Linked DNA regions of Homo sapiens: regions 1 and 3 are each linked to region 2. The links are contacts of gene promoters, found by promoter capture Hi-C in blood cells and fetal thymus (Javierre and others, 2016). All regions are on one chromosome and are shown on one strand. Each heading gives the region's core, a stretch centred on a gene start or on the middle of the fragment in contact. The rest is flanking DNA. Distances are from core to core; before and after follow the strand shown.

Region 1 (4,481 bases), core at 240-2,739, 1.1 Mb after region 2:
GTAGTCCCAGCTACTTGGGAGGCTCAGGTGGGACAATTACTTGAGCCCTGGAGTTCCAGGCTGCAGTGAGCCATGATTGCACCACTACTTCAGCCTGGGCAACAGAGTAAGACTCTGTCTCAAAAAAAAATAAAAATTCAAATTGAATTAAATAGACCTCATCCTCTTCCCCCCATTCCTTTCTCTCTGACTTCTAGAGTCTGGAATAAGATGCTTATTCATTCATTCCAACCGAACTGTTTGAGTGTCTACTATCAACCAAGCACAATTTTATGTGCTGGAAAGGTTCTAATGGTTGTTCCTTCAGTGGTAAAATTCATATTGGAAAGAATGGAATGGATTGTCTCTCTTAACTCTAGGGAAAAAATTATTGTGTACCTACCGTGTGCCAGCAGTAGGCTTAGCACTGAAGATACAGTTGTGAGAAAAACAGGGCAGTCCTCACCCTGCATGCCTAGCAGGTGAGGCAGGTAAGAAAGTAAATGCAGTGTGAAAGGAGCAGTGACAGGCAGGTGAGGGCACCTGAGTGAAATCAGGAGGGCTTCCAGGAGGAAGTAGCTTCTATAATAGCATGAAAGAGAAGGTAGGCAGGTGACGAGGGGAAAAGAAGAATGTCCTGGCCAGGCATGGTGGCTCAGGCTTGTAATCCCAGCACTTTGGGAGGCTGAGGTGGGTGGATCATTTGAGGTCAGGAGTTCAAGACCAGCCCAGCCAACATGGTGAAACACCGCCTCTACTAAAAATACAAAAATTAGCCAGGCGTGGTGGTGGGTGCCTGTAATCTCAGCTATTTGGGAGGCTGAGGCAAGAGAATCACCTGAACCCGGGAGGTGGAGATTGCAGTAAGCCAAGATCATGCCTCTACACTTAAGCCTGGGTGACAGAGTGAGACTCTGAAAAAAGAAAGAAAGAAAAGAAAGAGAGAGAGAGAAAGAAGAAGGAAAGAAAGAAAGAAAGAAAGAGAAAGAAAGAAGAAAGAAAGAAAGAAAGAAAAAGAAAGAAAGAAAAGAAAGAAAGGAAGAAAGAAGGAGGGAGGGAGGGAGGACAGGACAGGAAAGGAAGAAGAATGTCCTACCTACATGATGAGAACATCTGCAAAACATCTACAAAGCCTGGAAATGAAAGAGTGTGACCCACTTAATGACATAAAGTTTAATGTGGCTGGAGCAAAGCATGGCAGGTGGGTAGAGACTACAGAGGGAATGGATCAAAGGGAAGCTCTGGGGTCTTCTTAGCTGAAGCTTCACATAGAAAACTTTATTCTAAGGCTGCATCCTTTAGGAAGCCTTCTGTGTCGCCCCCTTGTCCTTGTCCATAAAAATAAATTTATGGTTCCAGCTTATGAATTCCTTCCCCCAGAAGTTACCAGGAAAACTACCTGTCTTCAGCCAAGAGAAGGTACGACCTACTCCTGAGTTCTTGGCTTCTCTGGCAGAAGATCCCACCCAGCCCCAGGCCCCATGAAGTCATCTATAATCCCCTCTCTTCTGCTTGGCTTGCCTCTTCTGGCCTCACAGGGAGCCTCCCAGATGGGTGGTTTTGCTTAAATAAGACGGGCCCACATCTCCCTTTGGTGCCAGAGGTCTAGAGGAGGAAACAAGAAAATGGGAATCTTTACTTTCATCATCTCTAGGCATCAAATATTCAATTAACCTTCAGCCTGACACCAGATTGGGTTTTATTTCTACCACTAAGCATGCATGCAATGGAGCAGCCGATCCGGGAACCTCATGCAATTAAAGCTTCCCCAAAGCCAAGCCACTGGCATTAGCATCAGGAAGGGAGCCCTTGCAGCGGGGGCAGGCTTTCTCTCTTCTGAACATTTTCACAATCGTAGATTGAGCATTGACCAGGAGAGAGGGCCCTCAGTTTCCTTCCTCCCTGCCCTGATACTCCATGCCCTCAGCAGCCCTGGACCCAGCACCTAGCATCTCTGGGCCTCAGATTCCTCCTCTGCAAGATGATGGGCTACCTTGAATCAAGGGTAGTTGCAAATCCAAAATCATGAAGGGCCAGGCAACACAAATACCGGAATTAGAGCTGTTGTGAGATTATATGGAGGGGAGGGGTCTGCGATGAATTAGGAAGTACATACCCTATCTAAAATCATTTAAATTCAATTTCCATTTTATTTTATTTTATTTTATTTTATTTTATTTTTTGTGATAGAGTCTCACTGTCACCCAGGCTGGAGTGCAGTGGTGCCATCTCAGCTCACTGCAACCTCCGATTCCTGGGTTCAAGCGATTCTCCTGCCTCAGCCTCATGAGTAGTTGGGATTGCAGGCGTGTGCCACCACACCCAGCTAATTTTTGTATTTTTAATAGAGATGGGGTTTCACCATGTTGGCCAGGCTAGTCTCAAACTCTTGACCTCAAGTGATCTGCCTGCCTCAGCCTCCCAAAGTGGTGGGATTACAGGTGTGAGCCACTGCCCCGGGCCATAATTTCAATTTTTAAAAATAGCATCCCCTCCTCCAAAAAAAAAAAAGTGCCTACTGGCTGAATCCAAACTGAGGACCACCAGTTTGCAACCCTTGCAAATGATTAAGGTGATTGAGGGTTTAAGCTCCCTTCTCATTGCAGCAATGAAGAAATTCATGTTTTTAAGCACTTACTATTTGTAAGGTCTTTACTAACATTAATTTTTACTTCATATAAGTTAAAAATAAATTGTATTATTTGTTCTTTGGATTAATCCCATGAAGTAGTTGCAACTATTACATTTAATTATATCCTCTTGCTTCCTCACCACTTCACTTGGATGTCTAAGAGGCATCTCAAATGAAATGTATTCAAAGACAAACTCCTGATTCTCCCTCCCTATATCTACTTATAGGGAGATATTTATTTATCTATTTATCTATTATACTTATTTTACCCCCATCTTTCTCATATGTGTAAGGTATGATCTATTCCATCAGTTGCTTGGGGGAAAGAATCAAACAACGACAAAACAGAAACCTTGGCGTTATTCTGGCCCAGTGGAGTGCTGGCTTTCTTAACAAGTTGGCGGCACAGTGGGCCACACCCTGATTTGTAGCATCTGTCAATTTCCACGGTGTAAATACTCCCACCATGACCCATTTTAATATACCAACATAATGACAACAGGCTCTCCAAATGCCTGGACCATTAGCTCTTACAAGCCCGTATGAGCCTGCCCCCAGCCCAGCACACTCACTGTGAACTGGACCTTTCTCTTTCTCCCACACCCTGTAGCCAAATCCTCAGGAAATTCCATTGCTTCTACTCAAAAGTCAAAGTCTTCCCAGAGTCCAAGCAGTTCTGACACCTCCACTGCCACCTGCAGGGTCCACGCCACCACTGCGTCTTCCCAGGGTTATTGCAACGGCCTTTGAGATATCCTTGTTCCCACTTCTGCCCCCTCTTTTTAACCAACACTCAGTGATCCTGTTACAACCGAAGTCATAGCACCCATGCTCTGCTCAAAGTTCTGCAATAGCTCCCTGTTTTATTTGGACTTAAAGCCAGTATTCTTACAAAAGGCCCTATGGGATCTAGCTCTGGTTACATCTCCAGCATCGCTTTATTCCTCTCTTCTCCTTTCTGTATGGTACATTTGACCATATTAGCCTTCTTGCCATTCCACACGCATACCTCAGGGCCTTTGCACTGCTGTCTCCCCTGCCATTGGGATGCTCTGCCCCAAATATCTGCAGAGCTTGCTCCCCATCTCTCCATCCTCTGACTTTGCTTCACTTCCATAGCCCTTGCCACCACCTAACACACTACGCATTGTGGTGTATCTTGAAGTATTTCAACTCCCACACCTCCACCTGGAATGTCACCTCCAGGAGAAGAGCAGGAGTTTATTTTTTGTCTTATTCACTGCCGTAACCCTAATATATAGACCAGTGCATGGCCCATAGTAGGTGCTTAATAAATAAAAGGCAAGGAAGTAAATGTAGCTTGTCAGGATCATACAGACATGAGGCTTCAAAGCGAGAATTTGAACCCAAATTTATGTTCAGCTGGCTATGATGCACGTGGAGGGAAAAAAGAGGGTCAGAAAAATATGGAAAGACCTTCTGGGGACATGGCCTCCATTTTTTAGTAAGTACAGGTTTATTACATGACAGGGAACCTGGTTGATAAGAAATAACATTTGGCTAAAAATTATCAGGTAAAGTATTAAATAATAGAAGTAGGAGGTCTCCCCAAGAGAATATTTTATAGGGTTATAGTTTCAAAGGATGTGTCATCATGGACCTTAGAATCAGAATATCTAGCGGGAGGGGGACTTCAAGGTCCCCCAATCCAGTGATGCTGAGATATGCTGGCAGAGTTCAGGGCCAAGTGCCGTGGGGCTTGGGGAGCCTGTATCATTCTCCCGGGTGTTCTGAGCACTGGACACTAAGCCAAGCAGAAAGTGATGACGGAACCACAGACAGGCTCAGAATGGGGCCAATAAGGGGGGGCATCGCCCTCCCCAAGGCAGCTGTCACGACTTGCGTTAGG
Region 2 (4,151 bases), core at 599-3,098:
AAGCCCAGCTAGGGGGCTGGGGCATGTGTGTGTAGTGTGTGTGCATGCGTGTGCATGCATATGTGCATTAAGAAAATGAGAGACAGGGGAAAGCAGGTATACTTGACCCAGTCTCCAAGCCTCAGATTGGATCAAGACACAGCCTGGGCTGCAAGGAAGGTGTGTGCACTAAAGAAACATGAGTAAAGGCCGGGCGCGGTGGCTCACGCCTGTAATCCCAGCACTTTGGGAGGCCGAGACGGGCGGATAATGAGGTCAGGAGATCGAGACCATCCTGGCTAACACAGTGAAACACCGTCTCTACTAAAAATACAAAAAATTAGCCGGGCGTGTTGGCGGGCGCCTGTAGTCCCAGCTACTAGGGAGGCTGAAGGAGGAGAATGGTGTGAACACGGGAGGCAGAGCTTGCAGTGAGCTGAGATCGTGCCACTGCACTCCAGCCTGGGCGACAGAGCGAGACTCCATCTCAAAAAAAAAAAAAATAGAAAAGAAATGTGAGTAAAGGCTGGGCACCCATGTGGCAGCGATGGGGCCAGTGGTAGGGATCTAAGAGCAACTCACTCTAGGACAGTGGTTAAGAAACAGGCCGGGTGCAGTGGCTCATGCCTGGAATCCCAGCACTTTAGGAGGCCAAGGTGGATGGATTGCCTGAGCTCAGGAGTTTGAGACCACCCTGGGCAACATGTCAAAACCCTGTCTCTAACAAGATACAGCAAAAAAAAGAATTTAGCTGGACCTGGTGGCGCACACCTGTAGTCCCAGCTACTGGTGAGGCTGAGGCAGGAGAATCGCTTGAACCTGGGAGGCAGAGGTTGCAGTGAGCCGAGATCACACCACTGCACTCCAGCCTGGGTGACAGAGTGAGATTCCATCTCAAAAGAAAGAAAGAGAAAGAAAGAAAGAGAGAGAGAGAGGGGGAGAGAGAGAGAGAGAGAGAGAGAGAGGGGAGAGAGAGAGAGAGAGAGAGAGAGAGAGAGAGAGAGAGAGAGAAGAAAGAAAGAAAGAAAGAAAGAAAGAAAGAAAGAAAGAAAGAAAGAAAGAAAGAAAGAGAAAGAAAGAAAGAAAGAAAAGAAAGAGAAACAGCCAGGGGCCTTGAGAATAAAATGCACTCTCCATAATTGGCCTCCCTGGCCCTGCAACATCAGGCCCTGCCCACCTTGGCCACCTGGCACAGGCCCTATTTGTCACATGTCATGCTTTAGCTTTGTTAACCTGTTTTCAGGTCTTCTTGAAATACACCATGCTGGTTCCTTGTATATGGACCCTTTCTGCTTGGAACTGTCCCCCCACCCTGTTCCCAGGCTTCCTCTTCTCCATCCCTGAGGGATGCGCTACCTCCCAGGAGCTTTTCTGAATGGCCTGGGCTGGCGTAGGTCCTCTTCCTGACACTCCCCTGGAACAGAGATTGTCACCAAGTGGATGCCCAACAAATATTTGTTGAATGAATAAATGGGTAGATGAATGAAGCCCAGACTCTGCCAAACCACCCTTCTTTACTTGTTCTTCCCCAGGCCCACTGAGATGTTCCTCTGTCTGCCATGCCTCACGGCCTGACTGACCGTACCAGTGAACCCAGCGTACCCCTGGCCCTGGCAGCCGGACGGCTGATGCATGCAAAGCGGGCATCTCCTTGCCCAGCCGCCTGACCGCCCTGGCGCGGCCGAATCTGAAAGCTAATGACATTATTGTGCAGAGACACAATGTCTGTGGGCATTTGCTGACCCGAGCTTTGGTGAGAGCTTAATCCAGCATTCTCACCCTGCTTTTCGCAGGAGCACAGCGGTCACTCATCTTGGCACCGGCACTTCTGGGGAAGGTATAAATGCCACCTCCCGCTGGCCGAGCTTCACGGCACTCGCAGGGGCTGGTGTCACTGGTAAGATTGCCTCTCTTGCTTGTCTTCCCTTCTTTCTCTCATCCTCACCCCTGTCCGCAAGCATGGGAGCACCCAGATTCTGACAAGTGACTTTGGGCAGAGACTTCAATGCTGTTAGCCTCAGTTTTCTTTTCTGGTAACTGGGAAGGGGGTTAAAAAGCCTTCTTTATTGTAAGGATTCAAGAGAAGTTAGGGGATCATCCAGCACAGTGCCTGGCACACAGTGGGCATTGGGGCAATGTTCTTTATTATTAATATTAAACAGACTATCAGCATCCTTGTTTCGCCAGTCGCTGAGGAGGAGAATGTAACTGAGGGTTTTGCAAGAATCAAACCAGTGACAGTTCAGCATTGTTTCTAGGTGGGTGAGTCAGTTTTCCTCCACATCTGCAATTAGGGGGCACCCACTCTGTGCCTAGCCTCTGGGAGTGCTAGGGGATAGGATGCAGCCACAGGTATGTGACAGGTCCCAGCAACAGGTGATTTCAATGCCACTAAAGCATGGTAGAAATGACTCTAATAATGCCACAATTGCTGCCATTTGCTGCATGCTGAGTGTGTTCTGGGACCACGGCCAAGTGCTTCCGGTTTTATACATTACATAATTGAATCCTCACAACCTGTTCACAGGTATTATTAGACATCATTACTGTCCCCATTTTATAGAACAGGAAGTTGAGGCATAGGGAGAGGATGAGACCTGCCCAGAGTCTCAATTCTGGCAGGCAGCAGAGACTGCTCCTGAACTGGACCAACTGAGCTTCTTCAGTCTGTGAACACTCAGGACTGGGAAGTGATATGGCAGGACCTCAGGCACTCTGACAAGCCCAGAGGGCTGGTTTCTTGCGGGAGAGCAGTAGATTTGGCTGCCAAGGTGCTTAACTGCATTTCTTCCTCCTGGGAAACATCCAGTATTGGCCTTTCATGTGGAAGGGGCTTCTGGAAGCTGGCGTTATCTCTGAAGAGGGAGGCCAGGCTTCCTCTCTTACCCCTGGGGAAACACAGCCTGGTTTGACCACCCCTTCTGCAGGAAGGGGGAAGAGGCTGACAATTTTCCAGGCTTTTCTGATGTTCTCACTAGCTAAGGCAGGTCTACCCTGCTGCCTGCCACAGTGCCTGGATTTCTACCGTCGCACCCATTTCTTCTCTTTCTTGTAATGTGGGTTCTGTATCAGATGATTTCACTAATGGGGGAGTAAAACCAGTGGCAGAGAAGAGAAATCTAGGTACCAGGATGGGGAGAGGAGTCCCAGGGAGAGGGTGGGAGAAGGAGCAGGGGAACAGGGAACTTTGTGAGTTCCTAAACTGGGCACCACCACACCACCAAATACAGCCAATGCATAGGTTTTGTTTGTTCCACACAATTTTATTTAAGAAATTACTGCATAAAGGCAGAAGTTCTGGGATTGACCATTCTATATTCTGTGTGGTATCCATTGTCTGGGGTTGAGTGTTGGGAACCCACTTTGGACCTCATTTAAGCTCTAGTTTATTACTGCTCTCTTTCTTTGAGTAGACCTCGTTTTTCCCTCCTCCTGCAGCTGGCCTGGATAGAAATAAATGAAGCTAAGGACAGAAGTTGAAGTAGCTGCTTACGGACCCCACAGCTCTGGGACAGTCTGAAACCAGGAGAAAAAGAGAATGTTTGGGGCCAGAGGGGAGTGGTCTCAAGGCCCCACAGAGTGAAAAAGCCAGTGGCCCCTCCAGGTCCTCACTGCTGCTTCCCATGTCTTCCAGGTCATTCCTGCACAGGACAGTCCACCATGGCCTCAGATCACCAGACCCAGGCGGGCAAGCCACAGTCCCTCAACCCCAAGGTGGGTACCTCTCAGAGGAGGGGGCATGCAATGCTCCTCCCCCAGACTTAGTTGCCCTTCTGTAAAATGGGCTTGGCATCTTTCTTCATGGGTACCCCCTCTCGACCCCTGCCCCTCTCTGGGACTCAGTCTCCTCTACCCACACAGTTGGAGCTGATACTGAAAGTCCCTCCCCAGCCCATAGCTGGCATGCTGGGATTCCCAGTACCAGCCTCTGGCTTTGGAGACTTCAGTTTCTCTCTCCCTTACCTGTTTTGCCACACCCTATTGTCTACAGGGCTCCCTGAAACTGGAGCAGACCCTCATTCTCAGTCAGAGATGGGATTAGTAGATGGAAGGTGGGTGTGAGTCCTGGCTCTGCACCTGCTGTGTGATCCGGGCCAATTATTTGATCCCTCTGAGCCTCAGTTCCATCTCTATAAAAGGAGGAGTCAGATTTATTGCACAGGGAAGTTGTG
Region 3 (3,975 bases), core at 41-2,540, 1.1 Mb after region 2:
TTTTTCTTTTTTTTTTTTTTTTTGTAGAGACAGGGTCTCTCTTTGTTGCCCAGAATGGTCTTGAACTCCTGGCCTCAAGCAATCCTCCCACCTCAGCCTCCAAAAGTGCTGGGATTACAGGTGTAAGCCACTGCACCTGGACTCCCTACTCTGTGTTTATCTGCCTCGAGGTCTCCTACTCTTTCTTGAGGTTTCAGAGCAAGAAGCATCACCTACTGCAGGAATGCTTCCATGATGCCCCTAATCTGAGTTTGTCCTTACTTTCTCTGTCCTTACTTTGGTTATAACTCCTGCCACAATCCCTGGCTTACAAATCTAAATAGATCACTACTCTGTGACCCTTCTGAGCTCAGCACAGTGCCTGGCTCATAGTAGATGCTCAAAAAAACAAACAAAAAAGAACATTAAGGAGAAGGAGACAAGAAAAGGAGAAAGACATGAGAGAGAAAGAAGACAGAGAGAGGGAAAGAAGAAAGGAAAGAAAGAAATGTGAGTTTGTATCTGTCCATGATTGATGAAGCCAAAGGTGAATTATCTGGCATTCTTTCAATTAGAGATCAATTTTATCTAGCATGTCTGAGATGGCACATGTTTCTGTGGTATAGTGAAGTGATTTCTGGATTATTAACTATCCACTGTGGTTTAATTATTTAGTGTCAAGGTACTTTCTTGCATTGGAGTCTTTGAAAATGTGTCATCCTTTAACAGTATGAATGGTGACAGGTTTGAGCATATCTCATAAGTAAGGTGCCTCCATCCCACCTCTGCCCTACCCCTTAAACATAATGGATCATTCAGTTGACTCTGAGGAATTTGCCCCGTGATAAATGGAAAGATCATTTCACCTTATATAAAAATGCAAGTTGTAATTAGCAAGCTGTCAGCATGTTCTGCACTGAAGAAGAATGAAAGATGCAGGTCATAGCCCCAGCCTGTAGCCTGGTGCCTAACACAGAGATGTCACCTAAGAAATGGTTGCCAATAATGGGAGTTTTGAAGGTGATTCTTCTTACAATGCAGCATTTGACTTTGCAATGAGTCCCATGCAGCCAAGACCATTGCATCAATGTGTCTTCAAAAACCCAACTGACGGCCGGGCACAGTGACTCACGCCTGTAATCCTAGCACATTGGGAGGCCGAGGTGGGCAGATTGCCTGAGCTCAGGATTTGGAGACCAGCCTGGGCAACACGGTGAAACCCCATCTCTACTAAATACAAAAAAAATTAGCCAGACATAGCAGCATGCACCTGTAGTCCCAGCTACTCGGGAGGCTGAGACAGGAGAATTGCTTGAACCTGGAAGGCAGAGATTGCAGCGAGCTGAGAGTGCCACTGCACTCTAGCCTGGGTGACAGAGTGAGACTCTGTCTCAAAAAAAAAATGACTTACAAATCTTTGTGTCACATTTGCAGTCTATGTCAATCTTACCCTCAGCTTGGGGTTAAGACACATAGCCTGGAGCCTGACACATACACACTTAACAAATTTTGTATTGCCTGAAAAAGTTAATCAAGGGTTTATTGAATGCCCATTCTCTATTTCACATGACTCTCCCTCTTCTCTGCCCTCCAAGCCTGAATCTGAGCAACAGTGACATCTTGACCATCTACGATGGCGACGAGGTCATGCCCCACATCTTGGGGCAGTACCTTGGGAACAGTGGCCCCCAGAAACTGTACTCCTCCACGCCAGACTTAACCATCCAGTTCCATTCGGACCCTGCTGGCCTCATCTTTGGAAAGGGCCAGGGATTTATCATGAACTACATAGGTAGGTGTCTCATCTGGTCAATTTATTTTTTCTTTGTGTTTAGATACAGGTTAAGGTGGTTTCCTCTAGGTTATTTGGCAGTTTTGTACTACAGCGATTTTTCATTGTATTGTATTGAAATGTACTCATTTCATTTTTAAAAGCCTGGGCTCTCTAGTCATGAGGACCAGGGTTTGAGCCCTAGCACGGTCATCGATGTCTGTGTGGCTTTGGGAAAGTTACTGAACCTCTCTGAGCCTTCTTTTTGTCATCTGTAAGATGGGCATAGTGATACCTATTCCACAAGGTTGATATCAGGATGTAGTAGACAATGCCTCATAACTTATGTTTCATGTGTGGTCAGCTGAGAACCTGTTGTCCCCATGTTTCATTTGTGGTCAGCTGAGATCTTACATCAACATACTTCCTAATTTCTTCCCAATTTGTGCAACTTCTCAAACATCGTCTTCACCTTCTTGCCCGAACTGAAGCTCAGCTCTCCTCTAAGGCCTCTTCTTTTCCTGTAGCCTCGTTGAACAAGGACAGCCTTCCTTTCGCACTTCTTGTACTTTAGGAGCTATAGATGCAAAAGATGTCTTTCCTCATCCTCAATGTGGCCTCCAAACCATGTCTCTCCTGCTCCTCCTAAAACAAACAAAACAAAAAAAAAACCTGCTATCAAATTCAAGCTAAGCTCACACACTCCTATGACCCCTCGTGTGCTTTCATCCAATCACACTCTTCCCTTCTCATTCCCCACCCTGTAACTCTCCCTCATTCATTACTAGCTCTACGACCCACCCCTTTTCAACCTTTAAACCCTGGAGGGTCCCAGGCTCCATCCTGGACTGTATCCTCTCTTCCAGCTAGACTCACGCCCTCCATGCCTTCATTAGTTCCCATGGATTTAAACAGTACCAATATCCGTTGACCGGTTCATACTTACAACCTTGACCTTAAACTCCAAATCCATCTATCCAACTCCCTGCCAACTCCTCCCTTGCCTCCATCCAGTAGACATCTCAGATTTAACATGGCCAAACAGAATGATTTCTTTTCCTACCCACCACCACCACTACCCAACAGCATCCCCTGCTATCTGCCAATCCTAGGAAATGAGACAACAACTCTCCTGGTTTCTCAGGCTGCTTCCTCCTTCCTTGCCCCCATATCCAATCCATCCTCTCAACTCCACTTTTCAATATGTCTCAAATCCAAACACATGTCCCCGTCTTTCTACGGCCACCACTCTAGTCCGAACTACCAACATTCCCAGATGTCAGAGGACTGGGACACCATGAAGTCCCACTGATTCCAGTCCCAGAAGAGACTTGCACTAACAGAGGAACTGGTCCAGCCCTGTCGTGTTCCAGCAGAAGAAACCCTGGACAAGCAAGGATGAAGGGTTGCTCATCGGGGCAGAGCCGAGCTCCAATCCATGCTTCCTCATCCCTAGCTCCAAAGCTTCCTCCACCCCCAATATTTTGGGCAGCAGCGGAGAACCTGGGAGACACAGAGGGTAATTAAGACCTAACATCCTTTGACATCTAGAAGAATGGGTGAGTGGTTGCACCCCAAGAATTTCAATGGGCAGGATTCGGCCAGTGATTAGGAAACGTGCTTGCACTTCCCAGGAATTAGACTGGCATCTTGATTTCCAGGATGGAGCAGAGAAAAGGAGAATTCATCCTACCCAGCCCTCTGCCACCACCACTACCACAAAAGACCCTGTGGTTGGAGCAAGATTCCATGTCTTTGGTTCTTTCTCCCCGTTCACTTAAAGAATTGTCCATCTCGGCCGGGCGCAGTGGCTCATGCCTGTAATCCTAGCACTTTGGGAGGCTGAGGCGGGCAGATTACGAGGTCAGGAGATCGAGACCATCCTGGCTAACACAGTGAAACCCCGTCTCTACTAAAAATACAAAAAAAAAAACATTAGCTGGGTGTGGTGGCAGGCACCTGTAGTCCCAGCTACTCGGGAGGCTGAGGCAGGAGAATTGCTTGAGCCCAGGAAGCAGAGGTTGCAGTGAGCCAAGATTGCGCCACTGACTCCAGCCTGGGTGATAGAGCGAGACTCCGTCTCAAAGAAAAAAGAAAAAAGAAAAGAATTGTCCATCTCTAACTAGGTTGGTGCAGAAGTAATTATGATTTTTGGAGTTTTAATTTGCAAAAACTGCAATTACTTCTGCGCCAACCTAATAATATGAATTGTCCTCTCTGTACCA

The links. The method cuts DNA at HindIII sites, captures the fragments that hold promoters and counts their contacts. A CHiCAGO score of 5 or more calls a contact.
Region 1: a fragment that was not itself captured here is called in contact with the fragment with the promoter of CRYBB2 in region 2 in 1 of 17 cell types (M2 macrophages); the score reaches 5.3 in M2 macrophages.
Region 3: a contact is called between a fragment that was not itself captured here and the fragment with the promoter of CRYBB2 in region 2, in 1 of 17 cell types (M2 macrophages). The highest score is 7.8, in M2 macrophages.

Annotation. Positions count from the first base shown.
Region 1 is chr22:26,315,932-26,320,412 of GRCh38, forward strand. The region is part of intron 9 of SEZ6L (seizure related 6 homolog like); the gene reads left to right. Among named protein-coding and RNA genes, the nearest start is that of SEZ6L-AS1, 72 kb to the left of the region's middle. The HindIII fragment of the contact is 501 bases long and covers 1,240-1,740 here.
Region 2 is chr22:25,217,791-25,221,941 of GRCh38, forward strand. It overlaps CRYBB2 (crystallin beta B2), which reads left to right and starts at 1,849. Exons shown (of 6, transcript NM_000496.3): 1 at 1,849-1,876; 2 at 3,614-3,693. The coding sequence starts at 3,640. The HindIII fragment of the contact is 9,715 bases long and covers 1-4,151 here.
Region 3 is chr22:26,338,862-26,342,836 of GRCh38, forward strand. It overlaps SEZ6L (seizure related 6 homolog like), which reads left to right. Exons shown (of 17, transcript NM_021115.5): 10 at 1,575-1,771. Among named protein-coding and RNA genes, the nearest start is that of ASPHD2, 88 kb to the right of the region's middle. The HindIII fragment of the contact is 3,843 bases long and covers 1-3,212 here.